Linked DNA regions of Homo sapiens: region 2 is linked to region 1. Evidence: promoter capture Hi-C in 16 types of primary human blood cells and fetal thymus (Javierre and others, 2016). All regions are on one chromosome and are shown on one strand. Each heading gives the region's core, a stretch centred on a gene start or on the middle of the fragment in contact. The rest is flanking DNA. Distances are from core to core; before and after follow the strand shown.

Evidence for each region. The method cuts DNA at HindIII sites, captures the fragments that hold promoters and counts their contacts. A CHiCAGO score of 5 or more calls a contact.
Region 2: a contact is called between a fragment that was not itself captured here and the fragment with the promoter of CIAO2A in region 1, in 1 of 17 cell types (fetal thymus). The highest score is 5.3, in fetal thymus.

The regions. Positions count from the first base shown.
Region 1 is chr15:64,091,629-64,096,560 of GRCh38, reverse strand. CIAO2A (cytosolic iron-sulfur assembly component 2A) reads left to right here and starts at 2,723. Exons shown (of 5, transcript NM_032231.7): 1 at 2,723-2,916. The coding sequence starts at 2,793. SNX1 (sorting nexin 1) reads right to left here and starts at 579. Exons shown (of 15, transcript NM_003099.5): 1 at 389-579. The coding sequence starts at 547. RefSeq lists enhancers at 256-335, 476-595, 2,311-3,040, 3,401-3,450, 3,086-3,648. The HindIII fragment of the contact is 2,171 bases long and covers 1,008-3,178 here.
Region 2 is chr15:65,185,536-65,190,467 of GRCh38, reverse strand. It overlaps LOC124903509 (a long non-coding RNA gene), which reads right to left and starts at 1,473. Exons shown (of 2, transcript XR_007064683.1): 1 at 1,226-1,473; 2 at 721-1,011. RefSeq lists a silencer at 4,878-4,932 and an enhancer at 4,609-4,932. The HindIII fragment of the contact is 1,691 bases long and covers 2,804-4,494 here.

The DNA.
Region 1 (4,932 bases), core at 1,474-3,973:
AGCAGTAAGACGGGGGAAAGGTCTGCATCCCATTCGCTTATTCCGTCCTACTGAATCTGCCTTGGCAGGACACGACCTGCAAAATAACCCCGTGGATCCGTGGAGTGTCACCACACTGCAGGGTCAAAGGACGGCGTCGGCGGTTCTCGGCTGTTAGGGAGCTAGCCGACGAAGGCACCACAACCCTCATTCTTTACTCTTCCCGCCTGGGGGCCGGGAAGCCAAGCTCTACCGCTTCGAGCACATCCAGGGTCCCCGGGGCCCGGACTGCTGACACCGAGGCAAGGTCTCACCGGGCCCACTCTGCCCAACCTCCCCGATTCTCGCTTAGCCTCTCTTCCCTTTCGGGGTGCCCTCCCGCCTGCTACCCCGAGGGGTGCAAACTCACGACCACCGCGGCGCCGGTGAAAATGTCCTCCCCCTCGGTGTCGCTGTCCCCAGCCTCGGGTTCTGATCCCCCGGCCGCCCCCTCGGACTCCGGCTCCAGGCCGGGGAAGGGCGGAGGCAGTCTCTCCGAAGCGCTACAGCCACCACCACCCGACGCCATCTTCTTCCACCCGCGGCGGAAGCCGCAACAACAACTTTATCGAGAGATAGCGCCGTGAGCAAAGCGATCCAACGGTGCGAGGAGTGGGAGGGCCGCAAGGGACCCCGTGGGATCCGAGGGGCGGAGACCTAGGGGCGGGGCTTAGGCGCTGGGGGCGGGGCGGCACCCGGCCAGCTGAGGCTGCGCAGCAAATCCGAGGCCTGGTTCGCGATGCTGAGATATTAACGAGTGGGGCCAAAGGGGCAGAAAAGTAGGAGTTAGGGGCTGCTCAGGTTTCTAGGGCCCTTTGTGCTCTGGATAGCTTTATCCAACAGGCTTCTAAGAGTTCGTCTGAATGAAGGAGTGTCACTAAAATGTTTGAAAACCTCTACATGCCATCTACCCATGCCAAGCACAATGCCCTCACAGAGAGTCAATAAATATTTCGATTGAGGTATCTGAACAAGACTAGAAGAAAGCTTCACCACTTATTCCTTGAGCAACATTCAGTTAATTCATTAAGAAATACAGATACTGAGCATCTACTGTATGCCTGGCACCTTGCTGTGAGTTTCAGATACAGAAATCAGGTATTTAATCGACAGTTCGACATGTTCAATGCTATGGTGCCCTGTGGGAGCACAGGGAAAGAGATAATCAATTCTGCTTGGAGAAGTAGGGAGGCCTCACAGATGAAGTGAGGCCTCAGTGTCCTAGATTTGGCTGGAAAAATGTTAGGATTATCCTCTCAATTGCTGTGGAGTAAGTGGAGTGGAATAGACGGCAGGGAAATTATTGAACCCTGACCAAAATTTCCTTGGGACCTAAGCAATTCATTGTCTGGTGATCCTAAGGCCTACATTAACTAGACAAACAAGACTGGAGTTTAAAGATAAATGGGCATGTTAGCATGGGACAATTCTGCAAGATAATCCTATCTTCTCAATAGAAATGGCATTTGTCACCAACTTTGACAAGAGGTTTAGTTAGTTTGGTTGTAACTGCAAATTCAGGGATGGACTCCCTCACAGGTCATGTGAGCTGTTTGAAGGCGGGGGCAGCGTTTTATCTTTGTATCTTCCATGCCTATGGATCACCTATGGCAAATTAGTACCTACAAATTTGATCGGAGGGATGGATGGATAAAATAAAATCGATTTTGTTACTGGCATCCATCACACCCACGAACACCAGAGGGCTTAAGATACACTTTTTTTTTTTTTTTTTTTTTTGAGGGAAGTCTCGCTCTTCTCCCCCAGGCTTGAGTGCAATGGCTCGATCTTGGTTCACTGCAACCTCTGCCTCCTGAGTTCAAACGATTCTCCTGCCTCTGCCTCCCAAGTAGCTGGGATTAAGGCCCCTGCCACCACGCCCAGCTAATTTTTGTATTTTTTAGTAGAGACGGGGTTTGCCCATGTTGGCCAGGCTGGTCTCGAACTCCTGACCTCAGGTGATCCGCCCGCCTCGGCCTCCCAAAGTGCTGGGATTATAGGCGTGAGCCATCGCGCCCGGCCAAGATACACTTTTAAGGATGGCGATCTCCATTATGTCACCACTGTACACATTAGACACGGGAAAACTTATGTTCTAAGTTGTCTTTGGAGGCCATTAGCAGAAATATTCGTTCAAAGGTGGGAAGCTGTGCTGGACTGAGTCCCTTAGGAGACGAGAAAGCCAAAAAGCCCTCCCCATGCCATACCTGACTACCTCACTGGCTTCCCATGACATCCCTTTTCACAGCAACTGAAACCTACTTCCTGTCCGATCAGGAAGTAAGAAAGACGTTGGCTGTCAGCGGATCCCGCGGAGAAATAATTGTAAAGAGTCTCCGTGCTGGAGAACTCAAGATCTCCTTTCCCCTACCCCTTCAGGATTCATCTTTAACTTATCACGGATACTGAGTGAGTCAGTCGCGGTTAACAGACCGTTACATCCACTTCTACCAGGCGGACACTACAAGTCCCAGAATACAATTCGCTGCCTTCCGAAGAAAATAGCTCACGCATCCCAGCATGCAATGTGCTGACGAGCCGCGAAGATTGTTTTTGTCCCGCCGAAATCGAGCAAAGCACGCTGGAACTTGTAGTCCTTGAGGCCCCTTCCCTAGGTCCTTCGAGCTACTCCGTCTGGCCCCGCCTTTTCTCTGCTCTCCTGAACCTTTAGGCTTGTCTCGGCCCATTTGAAGACCAGGAAGTTGATCAATCCCGAGGCTGCTGAGAGACGGTGGCGCGATTGGGACAGTCGCCAGGGATGGCTGAGCGTGAAGATGCAGCGGGTGTCCGGGCTGCTCTCCTGGACGCTGAGCAGAGTCCTGTGGCTCTCCGGCCTCTCTGAGCCGGGAGCTGCCCGGCAGCCCCGGATCATGGAAGAGAAAGCGCTAGAAGTTTATGGTAATTAATTTTACCCAGCACAGCATTTGGCGTTATAGGTGCAGGCCGGAGCTGAGGGGTGCGGGGATGATGGCCTCACCTGAGGGCTGGGAGGGGAGACCTTTTTTTTTGTTTGTTTGTTTGTTTGTTTTTGGCCAGATCTTGTCCGGGGCGTAGCAGGCGCTTTCTTCGGGGTCCTAAGTCACGTGGGGGGTGTGGGTCTTTCTGGGAACTGGGCTCTTCGTAAACCTGGGGCAAGCCGAACCCAGAGGTCTTAAAAGCTTCATTCTCCACGTGTGGCCTACGTCTTAGTAACCATTCCAAGACTTGTGGGGAGACCACAAGTCTAGGGTGCCTGGTTAGGAAGCAAAGCTGGCCTGATTGCACTACTAGAGCCTCGTTCTCTAGCTCCTGGACACGCACTCTTGCTACCGCTGAGGGCGCTTGTGGGTGACAGTCGAGTTGGGGACTGGCCCAAGGTCACAGCCACTCTATCCGGCAAAGTCAGTAAGCAGAGGTCCCCGAAAGAAGAGAACGAGATTGGCTTCTTGTAGCAAGGCCTTGTGTACACACACATAACGCACACACACACATACACACTCTTCCATGTTGCATATTAAATATTTTCTGTTTAACCCTTGGGGCCATCTTTATTGTACAAATGAGGAAACAAAGGTTAAAGAACTACCTGGAGGTCACACTGCCAGTAAGGAACAGAGCCAAAAAGCAAAGGCTGTGCCTACTGGTTCTAACCGTAATGCACTTTCCACCACTTCACAATTGCCTTACAACTTTTTGTTTGTTTGTTTTTTTAATTATGTTGTATTGTTTTTGAAAACCGAAAAGACTGGATATAATATTGAGAGATCTAACCATAGAATACAAATATAATTCAAGTAAGGATTATAGGCCAGTAGAAGGAAGCCAGGGTTAGGAAATACTCTGGGAGCTAATTTGGTTGACCTCTCTTACTAGAGGCAGGACTTACCTAATCAGCCTCCAGGCAGATGATAATTGTGAGTAAAATGATCTCCACAAAGCAGACCACATCCCTGTCCTGCCAGATCTCTGTCCACATAATCTAGGGATGGTAGGGCACTGGAGATACAACTTTGGAAGAGAGTGACTCTAGTCTTCAAACTGATATTGAAGGAAACCCATATATGCAAAAATAGAGTATGTAATAGAAGGCTGTAGACTGAATAAGAGATACAGAAATTCAGAGAAAGGGAGATACTAGTCTCTGACTGAGGGGATCTAGAAAGACTTTGAAATAAAGAGAAGGAGCCACTTGAGTTGGGCCTCAAAGAATAATTAGGATCTAGATATGTAGAGGGTCAGAGGGCATACTAAGAGGAAACTTAAAAGCATGGAGGTAAGAAGATAGGAAATGACAGATAGATGGGGCTATAGGATAGGGTTTGTGGTTAAATGTGAAGATGTGGTTGAACATTGTTCTAGGTAGTGGGATGCAGTTGGATACTGAAGGTTTTAAATATAAATGAAGAATTTTAATAGTGCAGTGCTGTGGAAGAATGTTAGTGTGGGGAGTAATATGAGGAGAACTTTCTTTTAAATTTTTTTTTTTTTTTTTTTTTTTTTGAGACAGGGTCTCACTCTGGTAATCAGGCTGGAGTGCAGTGGTGCAATCACTGCTCACTGCAGCCTCCATCCACCTCCAGGGCTCAAGCCATCCTCCCACCTCAGCCTCCTGACTGACTGGGACCATAGGCATGCACCACCATGCCCAGCTAATTTTTGTATTTTTTTGTAGAGATGAGGTTTTGCTATGTTACCCAGGCTGGTCTTGGACTCCTGAGCTCAAGTGATTTGCCTGTCTCGGCCTCCCAAAGGCTGGGATTACAGGCATGAGCCACCACACCCGGCCCTTCTTTCTTTTTAAAGAAGTAAAGCCAAACCTCTCAAATCTAGAAACTAGAAAACTAGAGAAATTTAATAAGGATGATATTTAATTTCAGGGTTTAGTGGCATATAAAGAATATAATACAATTAAATGAGCCTTATGGGGAGAAAGCC
Region 2 (4,932 bases), core at 2,400-4,899, 1.1 Mb before region 1:
AGAAGCCTTTTCTCTTCATAACCTTGTTATTGATTAATTTACCCATGAGTACTACTTTACATACATAGCCAGTGGATGCTTCTGTATATTTAACAATTGCTTACAGGTAATACATGATTATAATTGGTTGTTTTTTTTTTTTGTTTGGTTGTTTGTTTTTGAGACGGAGTCTTGCTCTGTCACCCAGGCTGGAGTGCAGTGGTACAATCTCGGCTCACTGCAAGCTCCGCCTCCCAGGTTCATGCCATTCTCCTGCCTCAGCCTCCAGAGTGGCTGGGACTACAGGCGCCCGACACCATGACTGGCTAATTTTTTGTATTTTTAGTAGAGACGGGTTTCACCGTGTTAGCCAGGATGGTCTCGATCTCCTGACCTTGTGATCCACCCGCCTCGGCCTCCCAAAATGCTGGGATTACAGGCATGAGCCACTGTGCCCGGCCCTAGCCAGTGGGTGATTATAATTGTTAATCACTTTTATTATCTAATATTATGGTTAATGCACATGAATTGGAAATTGGAAATTGGAAAGGACTTATAAGCCAAGAGTTCATATTCTCTCTTTCATCTCTTTTTAAGTGTTTCATTTGAAATCAAGCAAGTTCCTCACAATGCTAAAGTACTGTGAATAGGGTAAGATCCTCAACTAGCTGGCTAAGAAGCATGACCGAAAAAGTAATTTTTTATTTTTATTTTTTTATTTATTTTGTATGCAACTCATTGTTTATATTTTTTGATTTTTTTATTTAAAGGAATTTTTAAAGGCATAAAGGGAAATCCATAATTCACAACATTGCACAGGAAAATATCTTTATTACTTAGTAAGCACCTACTCACTATAGCAAGTGCCAAGGGATCATTTATTCCTCACATTAATTCTAGGAGGTCAAGAGCACCCCAATTTATAGTGGAAAACAGGCTTATGGAATTAACTTACTTACCAGAGGTCACATGGCTGTTAAGGAACTCAGCTGGGATTCACACACCAGTCCTTCTACTCCTGACGTCTGTGCCCTTTAGTAAATACAAACAAGAATTCCCTAGCACTGTCTTCAAGATTTGATACACTGAAAGTTCCACTGGATTAATTTTAAGAATGCCCCCAAAGGATTCAGAGGGAAGGGTGGTAAGTTAGCACCATCTGCTGACCATCTCCCTGAACATCAGGATGAGGAACAAGAGGCAGTCTAATTGAGGACAAGGGGGATCTCATGCTATCTAAGGTTACCTCCAGCCCCCAAGGGCAGGCCCAGGAAAATGATGAGCGCCTCGCTGTAGTCCTCTTGGTCACCCTACAATACCAAGGTTGGGCAGTGACTCCCTGAGGAAGAAAGTAGTAGCAGTTGGAAGGAGCCTAAAAGAGACCTTGAGAAAAAAAGGTCCAGACTTCTATCAGCACAGTGGAAACATATCATTTCTGCAAATAAATCTTAGCATCTCCTGATTCTAGCATCCAGCAATAAAAACAGATTCCTGAGCCCTCCTCCAGACTATTTTGTCAAAATCTTTAGGAGAGGGGCCTAATGTATTTTAACAAACAACCAAAGTAATTCTTTTTTTTTTTTTTTTTTTGAGCCAGAGTCTCACTTTGCTGCCCAGGCTGGAGTGCAGTGGCATGATCTCGGCTCACTGCAACCTCCGCTTCCCAGGTTCAAGCGATTTTCCTGCCTCAGCTTCCTGAGTAGCTGGGACTACAGGCACACATCACTGTGCCCAGCTAATTTTTGTATTTTTAGAGACGGGGTTCACCAGGTTGGCCAGGCTGGTCTTGAACTCCTGACCTCGTGATCCGCCAGCCTCAGCCTCCAAAGTGCTGGGACTACAGGCCTGAGCCACCGCGCCCGGCTACAACCAAAGTAATTCTTAAGTAAAGGAAAGATGGTGGGTCACTTCCTTAATAGGAGGGCAGATTTTTATTCCTTGATGTGAGATGTTCCTGGGTAGGGGGTAGAGATTCTGCAGACCCCTAAAATCTCATCAGCTTTTGGAATAAGATATAGAGAAGTAATGGAAACCCATATGGTGATTTGGATTTAAGTCTGGGTTCTGCTGTGACCTTGGGCAAGTCACTTAAACTCTCTGTGTCTTGATTTTCTCAGCTTCAAAACTGGAATGCTGATAATAACAATATATCATTTGGTTGTTGTAATAATCAAATGAGAAAGTGGATGTGAAAACCCTTTGTAAGTTATAAAGTTCAATACGATGTGTTAATATTATCTTGAGTTCGCACCACCTACAGATGCAGGTCCTTATCTTTTAAAATACTGAGTTCCTCAATATTTATATTTATATCCTTCCAGGGATAATCAATGTCTGCTGATATGAAGGAGCAGGGTTTGGCCATGAAAAAAAAAGTCTTTATTCAGAGGATACAAAGATTCCCAAAAGAATGATGACTCTCTGAGAAGATGTGCCAGAATTTCTGGTGGAGGAGAGGAGAAGCGAGATTTTTTGTTGTTGTTGTTGAGATGGAGACTTGCTTTGTCACCCAGGCTGGAGTGCATTGTCACGATCTCAGCTCACTGCAACCTCTGCCTCCCAGGTTCAAGCGATTCTCCTGCCTTAGCCTCCCGAGTAGCTGGGATCACAGGCGTGCGCCACCACACCCGGCTAATTTTTGTATTTTTAGTAGAGACGGGGTTTCACCATGTTGGCCAGGCCAGTCTGGAACTCCTGACCTCAGGTGATCCACCTGCCTTGGCCTCCCAAAGTGCTGGGATTACAGGCGTGAGAAACTGCGCCTGGCCGAGAAGTGAGATTTTTATGTTTATCGAAAAGAGTCTTGGGTTAAAAAAGAAAAGCTTGAGAAATACAGTTTTAAAGCCAGAAGACTCCAGCTCTATTCTCTGTTTTTCACTTGTTATGTGACCCTGGTCAAGTATCTGCCTTTTCAATAGGCCTGTTTCCTCATCTAAAAAAATCAGGGTTAATATTGAGTGAGTTAAGACTCATGGACTCTAATTTATTAAAATATTTCTTATAGCAACTCATAATGCTGGGAGGTAAAATCAAGTATAAAAGAAAAAGAGGGCCTGCATGGTGGCTCACACCTGTAATCCCAACACTTTGGGAGGCCAAGGCAGGCGGATCATGAGGTCAATAGATCAAAACCATCCTGGCCAACATGGTGAAACCCCGTCTCTACTAAAAATACAAAAACTAGCTGGGCGTGGTGGTGTGCGCCTGTAGTCCCAGCTACTCAGGAGGCTGAGGTAGGAGAATCGCTTGAACCGAGGAGCCAGAGGTTACAGTGAGCCAGGATCGCACCACTGCGCTCCAGCCTGGCCACAGAGTGAGACTCCATCTCAAAAAAAAAAAAAAAAAAAAGACAAAAGAAAAAGTTTTACATAAAATGAAGACATAAAAAGTTATGTGCCTGACTGGGTGCAATGGCTCATGCCTGTAATCCCAGCACTTTGGGAGGCTGAGGCAGGCGGATCACTTGAGGTCAGGGGTTTGAAACTAACACGGCCAACATAGTGAAACTCTGCCTCTACTAAAAATACAAAAATTAACCGGGCATGGTGACGCATGCCTGTAATCCCAGCTACTCAGGAGGCTGAGGCAGGAGAATCACTTGAACCCAGGAGGCAGAGGTTGCAGTGAGCTGAGATGGTGCCACTGCACTTCAGCCTGGGTGACAGATGGAGACTCTGTCTCAAAAAAAAAGTTATGTGCCTTCAGCTATGTAGTTCGCAAAAAGTAAATAACTCAAGGAGTTAACTCCTCCAGTGTAAACTATTTGAGCTGGAAAACTGCACTTGACTTTCTTTTTAAAGCGTCATTAATCTGTCAGAAAACAGCTGAAAGTAGGTGTGATGTGGAAGGGCTGATGTGACCACAAGTATTTGCCATCACTTTCCTGGTGAAGGATCCATTTTCTCACAGGGATAATCTCAGATGGCTCTGGGTTTTTTTTTTTTTTTTTTGAGACGGAGTCTCGCTCTGTCGCCCAGGCTGGAGTGCAATGGCACGATATCGGCTCACTGCAACCTTCGCCTCCTGGGTTCAAGCAATTCTCCCACCTCAGCCTCCTGAGTAGCTGGGATTACAGGAGTACGCCACCACACCTACCTAATTTTTGTATTTTTAGTAGAGATGGGGTTTCACCATGTGGGTCAGGCTGGTCGCAAACTCCTGACCTCGTGATCCACCTGCCTCGGCCTCCCAAAGTGCTGGGATTACAGGTGTGAGCCACCACGCCCAGCCGGCTCTGTGCTTTTGAATTCATAACTTGAGAGGATGGCCTGATAGGAACCTGACCAGAGGTTATCTATGCAGTGCCATCCTTAATCACGGCCGGGTGCGGTGGCTCACGCCTGTAATCCCAGCACTTTGGGAGGGCGAGGCGAGAGGATCACTTGAGCCCAGGAGTTTGAGACCAGCCTGGGCAACATAGGGAGACCTCATCTTTACTAAATTAAAAAAAAGAAAGAAAGAAAAGAAAACCCTCAAGACTTTAAAGCACCCACGGACTAGCAACAGCTAGAAGCTTTATCACCACGAGGCCTGAAAGAACAAGGAGACGGAGCTGTTACCAACTAACAATTGCTGCTCAGGGAACTAACTGACAATACCAACTCCATGTTACAAGTGATGAAACTAAGGAGAATGAGAAGATAAGGAACACAGGATGTGGAATTCCGGGGGAAGAAATTTAGTGAATCTGAAGCATCCAGCGCCTACCAAGGCACTTTAGAGACTTCCCCCTGGAGGGTTAAGCCACCAGCCTCACCTTGACCTTCCCTGCCGCCCACTAAAAGTGACCGGAAGAGCTCGACTATGACGACTCGGGACTACAAGTCCCGGCATGCATCTCTCCGCGTCTATCGCAAAACCTTTCAACTTTAGGATAAAAGGGCTTTTGGCAACCTTGAGCGTCGGGACCTGTAGTCGCCCCAGTTGGGGCTAGACGCTTGCCGTAGGGAACTC